2 separate regions of the Homo sapiens genome follow, and region 2 is linked to region 1. Evidence: promoter capture Hi-C in 16 types of primary human blood cells and fetal thymus (Javierre and others, 2016). All regions are on one chromosome and are shown on one strand. The core of a region is centred on a gene start or on the middle of the fragment in contact, and the rest is flanking DNA. Distances in the headings are between cores, read along the strand shown.

What was found. Contacts are between HindIII fragments. The CHiCAGO score rates a contact against its expected background, and 5 or more counts as called.
Region 2: a contact is called between a fragment that was not itself captured here and the fragment with the promoter of PRDM2 in region 1, in 2 of 17 cell types (non-activated CD4 T cells and naive B cells). The highest score is 6.6, in non-activated CD4 T cells.

What each region holds. Positions count from the first base shown.
Region 1 is chr1:13,698,571-13,701,501 of GRCh38, forward strand. PRDM2 (PR/SET domain 2) reads left to right here and starts at 1,618. Exons shown (of 10, transcript NM_001393986.1): 1 at 1,618-1,730. RefSeq lists a silencer at 1,371-2,140. The HindIII fragment of the contact is 13,472 bases long and covers 1-2,931 here.
Region 2 is chr1:13,891,210-13,894,360 of GRCh38, forward strand. It overlaps a transcript of KAZN not described here. Among named protein-coding and RNA genes, the nearest start is that of PRDM2, 190 kb to the left of the region's middle. The HindIII fragment of the contact is 4,492 bases long and covers 1-3,151 here.

The DNA.
Region 1 (2,931 bases), core at 368-2,867:
AAAATTTACTCTAATGAGGTGATCTTCATTTGTTTACTATAACCGACTCGATCATCAGCTATAGCCTCATTCTTTTTTTTTTTTTTTTTTTTGATACTGAGTCTCGCTCTGTCACCCAGGCTGGAGAGCAGTGGGGCATCTTGGCTCACTGCCAGCTCCGCCTCCCGGGTTCACGCCATTCTCCTGCCTCAGCCTCCGGAGTAGCTGGGACTACAGGCGCCCGCCACCACGCCTGGCTAATTTTTTGTATTTTTAGTAGAGACGGGGTTTCACTGTGTTAGCCAGGATGGTCTCGATCTCCTGACCTCGTGATCCACCCGCCTCGGCCTCCCAATGTGCTGGGATTACAGGCTGAGCCACCGCGCCCGGCCTAGCCTCATTCTTTTACAATAAGATAACATGATATATGTTGATACAACACGTTTTCTTTCTTTTTTGAGATGGAGTCTGTCTCTGTCGCCCAGGCTGGCGAGCAGTGGGGCGATCTTGGCTCACTGCAAGCTCCGTCTCCTGGGTTCACGCCATTCTCCTGCCTCAGCCTCCGGAGTAGCTGGGACTACAGGCACCCGCCACGTCGGCCGGCTAAATTTTTGTAGTTTTAGTAGAGACGGGGTTTCACCGTGTTAGCCAGGATGGTCTCGATCTCCTGACCTCGTGATCCACCTGCCTTGGCCTCCCAAAGTGCTGGGATTACAGGCGTGAGCCACTGCGCCCGGCCAACACGTTTTCTTAAGATTAAACCTGTTACATAAATGATCGTTCATAATTTTTGGAAGCACACCTGCCCTTAGTATCCTGTTTTTCCACTGGGTGCTTTCTGCAGATGGCCAACGTAGCCATCACATTCGGATTCTTCCTGACTTCATTCTCAGAGGATTACTTTATCTTGAAGTGCTGAAGGCTCCAGGCACCATCTATAACGACAACTCCCAACTTTCCAGCTCATCTCCAGCCTGTGCTTCTCCCCGACTCAACTCATTTTCAACCACGTGCTAGGCCTCCACCCTTGGATGTCGAAGAGCCATCTCCAGTTCCACCCAGTTCATCTTCATCAGAACATCTATGAGTCGTCGTCTCTGCAGTCCATTTGTTTGCCCGCTTGGGAACAGCAAGCTCCTTAAGGGCAGGACTACTACCGCGCTCTCAGAGGCGCTGCACTGGAACATCGCGGGCACAGGGCAGCGTTGGTCACTGCTCCTGGGTACTAGGGCAGCAAATAAACCCAGCAGCTGCGTCTGTCTGCCTGGAGTTGGATCTTTTTGGTATAGATCCAAACGTAGAAGTATAAGGTCTACGTTTATGTACTTGTCAGATATTTAATGACCTCCAACGATAGACATGCCCCCCCAACACCTCCTTCAGTCTTTTTGATTCTTTGAGAATCTTTGAACCACGCAGGATCCTAGCCCTAGGGTGCGGTCGGACTTGCCGCGACGCCAGCCGCCGGGGTTCCTTCCCGAGGCGCCGCCATGGGATCCGCGGTGACCTACGAGGGGCGGCTGGGTGGTGGCCATTGGGCGACGGCGCAGGGTCAAGGGCCGGGCTCTGGGATCGTGGGGAGACCGGGGGTCCCGGAGCCCCCCAGCCCCGCAGGCCACTGCCTCGCCGCCCGACGTCACTTCCGACTGGAGTCAAGATGGCGGCGGCGCGGCCGCGGGCGCCGGGGCCGGCGAAACAGCGGCGGCGGCGGCGGCCCTCGGTGCTCTGAGGCGCTGGCGCGGCGGGCGCGGGTAAGGAGTGGCGCGGGTGGGCGGCCTCTGGGCTCGCGCCGGGACGCTGGTCCCTCCCCCCGAGGAGCGCGGCGGCGACGGCGGCGGCGACACGCTGGGGACCCGGCGCCGCAGGGATGGCCGGGTCGGCGGACGCGCCCCCTCAGAGGTCCCGGGCGTGCCGGGGGCCCCGGGACGAGGCGCGGGCCTCCGGGTCGGTGGCCCCGCGGGTGGGTGGCGGCGCCGGGCTCCTCCTTGTCGGCCGTGGGGTCCCTGCGGCGAAGTTCGGGATTCGGTTTGTCGCCGTGAAGAGCCGCGCGCCCCGCGGGGGACGCGTGCGGGCTGCAGAGACTGGCCGGGTGCGGGCGGCGGTGGGGCCACCTGGGGCCCCACGTGGGGCCGGGCGCCGTCCCAATTGTCAAGCCGCTGTGCTTTTCTCTTTTGTGTTCCCACTGAGTGTGTCTTGCACATTTGCACTCCAAATTTGTTTTGTGTCTTGCGTCTTTGTGTTTCCCAAATAGTTTTTGTGTGGTTTTAACCTGGAGATTGTCTCCCTCAATGTTCCCATAGACCCACGGGTGTATGTGTGTGTGTGCGCACGCGCGCGTGTGTGTGTGTTACAGACGTGCAACTCTGTTACTAATTTTGCTAATAAAGCTATCAATGAACCTCTTTTGATGGTGGTAAGTGAGACATGAAGTAAACCTAACAGGTCAGTGTCATTCCCCAAACCTTCGTGGTTCTTTCGATCCACGCGTGAGCCACCGACCCTCCGGGCTTGTAGCTTTGTGTCGGGCTGTGAGCTGCGGCAAAGACCCCATAGTTAACCGGGAAGTCCTGATTTCCTTAACTACGCAGCTGAAATTTCCCCTAACAGAAATTTCGTGCTGGCCCCTCACTTTTCTTTTAGTGTTGTATTGAGATTTTGGGTGTATTTGAGACGTGGAACGTCTTTTGCTGAATCCCAGTAGGTCCTTAGATCCCTTTAACCAGACACTAGAAGAATCATTTTTACCCCAGAACTCGACTAAAATGTTTAAGTTTTTGTTTACTCCAGGTTTATTAAAAGTGACCGAAACTTTTAACAACAAATGGAACTCTTCAATGATTTCTTTTACAATGGTACACACTTCGCCTCGGTTTGATCAGTTGTGTCCAAGTATTAGAAAAATGTAGGCCTTTTAAAAAAAAACATGATAGGAAATTTACATATATTAAGGAG
Region 2 (3,151 bases), core at 593-3,092, 190 kb after region 1:
GATGGCATCATCACTGTGCTGCTTTTTTTCTTTTGTTTTGTTTTGGTTTTTTTTGAGATGGAGTCTTGCTCTGTCACCCAGGCTGGAGTGCAGTGGCGAGATCTCAGCTCACTGCAGCCTCCGCCTCCCAGGTTCAAGCGATTCTCCTGCCTCAGCCTCCCGAGCAGCTGGGATTACAGGCACCCAACACCACACTCGGCTAATTTTTTTTTTTTTTTTGTATTTTTAGCAGAGATGGCATTTCACCATATTGGCCAGGCTGGTTTCGAACTCCTAACCTCAGGTGATCCACCCGCCTCAGCCTCCCAAAGTGCTGAGATTACAGGTGTGAACCACTGCTCCCAGTGCTGTGCTGTTTATAGGAGGAGAGCTTGGGAAGCAAGTCAGTTGCCAGGTGCTAAGGGAGCAGATAGAGTAAAATCGTACATTTAATATATGAAACACTATTTAGCAGTGAGAAGCAATGGACTGGGTATACAGAGAATGGAGGAAAACATAGATTGCCAAACAGAAGACATCTGCAGGTTAAACTACTATATAAATGTTCACCTTGGATTTTTTTTTTTTTTTTAACAGCAGCTAATGGGCCATTGCTGGGAGGCATTATAACTTCCATTTCCACTCAGACCTGAAAAACCAATCTATTTCCCTTCCTGCGTGGGGTTTCTGCAGATATCAAGAGATCTGGTCTTCTAACCCTAGCTCTTGACCACCTTAGACCCAATTTGCCAGAGAGAAATGGTCCCTGGTGTCCTACAGTTTCATGACACGGAGAAGAGCCTCATGCATGACAAGAAAAGGGATGCTCAATCACTTAAACTACCTGGAAGCAGCATTAACACAAAGTCAGACTTCCTTTGAACTCTTGGAACTACTTCAAGGCTCCTCTGCCTTGTCTTACCCATCCCAAGGAACCCTCAAAACATCACTAAGCTGCATGTGTTTGCTGGCCAAGGGCTGTAATGGAAAAAGGCCTGTTTGAGAGTCTTTCTGGCCCCTAGATCAGTTGTGAGTTTATCTTCTGTTGCTTAAATACAGAAGAGGCAAATGGCTTTTCTAAATCAAAGTTCTCCGGAGGGAAACAGACACGGGTGCTTTGACGGCTGCAGCTGAGCTCATTGTGGCACAGCCTCTCTCTCCCTGCACGTGTGTTGCTGCCTAGAGAGGTGATTGCCAGTACCAATGTCTCAGCGGAATCCTCAAAGTACCCTAAATGCTGGCCCGAGATGATGCAGCCTCTCTGGAGTTAGCATCTTCATGATTAGCAGGTGGAATAGCAAAATAAACCCAGCACTGGCAGAAATAGCTGTTGGAATCATGCAAAAAGTACCCCTCTCCTCCTTTTCCAGAGAAGCGGCCCCTTTTGGTTTGGAGCAGGGGACAGATCCTTCATACACAGTAGGGTTGGGTCGGCTAAGATGAAGTACTCAGATCTCTGTATCACCGGAGCGCCCTAGGGGATGTGTGGCATTTTCTCCTTTTCTCTTCTTGGTCTCTGGATTTTATCGCAGGCAGTCGGGTCTCCCGTGCCTGGCACTTCCTTGGCTGTGGGCAGGAAGAGGTTACAGCAGCCCTGGAGCCTGCTGGGCTGAGTTAGCACTTCCCTCCGCATCCAGAATATCTCCCAGGAACTGCCCCCTTTGCATCGCCGCACCGGGGTGGCGGCGCGGGCTGGGGGCCGCTGCAGCAGGTCTCAGTCCCTCCCTGCTGCCACGCGAGGAGTGGGGAGCGGCAGGGCCTAGGCGTCCCGAGTGGAGGATGAGCCGGAGACGCCTGCGGGTCCGGAGCTGCACCGCGCCCGTGCGGCCCGCGCCGCCCGCCTCCCGCGCTCTCCCTTTGGCAGCAGCCGGACGCCTGGCGCGTGCAGGACCTGGGGCCGCGGCGCTCGCGCGGGGACGCGGGAGCCCAGGGTCGGCGCTGCAGGCAGCGGGGCGGCGCCAGCAAGGCCAGCTCCCCGGGGACCCTGGGGCAGCCTCGCGCCCTGCCTGCCTCCCTGGACTGAGACGCCGCGGGGCCTGGGCAGCGCTCTGCCGGCAGCTGGTGCTGGAACACAGCCGGGGCTGAGCTGCTCCCGGGGACCCTGCCCCTTCCAGGTGACCCCAGGAGAAGCAGCCCCGGGCCGGGGGGCAAGTTCCAGCCACCCTTCCGGGTCAAGAAGCCACGACTCCTGGTTAGGGGGAAACTTAGATTTTTCTTTTGCATGGAACTGCTGCTGTGCAAGATTTGCCAAGGCTTATAGGGTTTCATTTTTTACTTGACTGGTGTTTGAGAAAAACTGCAAGGAAAGGGTGGCGAAAGGAAGAAACACTATAAACTTTGGGGGCGGGGACATTTTCTTGGAAGTGACAAGTAGCCTCAGATCTGCAGTTCCTGGGCCAGCGACGGCATCCTTTGCTCTGACACTCCAAGGGTCTGGACGCTGCCACATGACCAACACCAAAGACCCCAAAAGAGCCATGGAATCCACGCTGGCGACATCCAATTCTGCCACAGGCCCCGTCACCTTCTCCCACGTCTTTGGTCAGCAGTGCCAACTTATGCAAGCAGGTAGGAATTGCGTCGTGTGTCATGTGCCCAGAGAATGGGAAGTGGAGCGTTATCCCGGGTCCCCAAAAACAGCGGTCTGTGTGTGTCTGTGTGTCTGTCAGTCTACCTCATCTCTTTCTTGATATAATGTGGGATGTAAGACTTAACTAGCTAGTGAAATGTTTGCCTGGCATTTATCACTGTAAAAGATAAAGTTTTTAGGACTTGCCATGAGACAACGCGCTGCTTTTGCAATGAGTGAGGGGCCTTGTTTGTCCTTCGTCATCGATTTTCTCTGTGGCTAGCTGGGGGGTGAAGGAGGGTGCGTCAGGATGGATCTGATGATGCCATGCTGTGGCCATCTTTTGAGGCCAGGTGCCAGTCGTAGCCTGGTTGCCTTTGTCAGCTTGCCTCTCTCTGCTCCTAAGAGTTATGTTTAATCTATGCCCCCCCAGCCCCTGCTGGAGTAACTTCCATGCTTATAAGTGTCTGCTCTGAGCAGCCTCTCCCAGGCTTTGACTTGGTTGTGGGGATTCCTCATTAGTCTGTGCTCATGAATTTGTCTTCCAAATGGCTCACGTTTTATACAGAAGGGAAAGATTGGCATGGGCTGCGGGCCTTATAA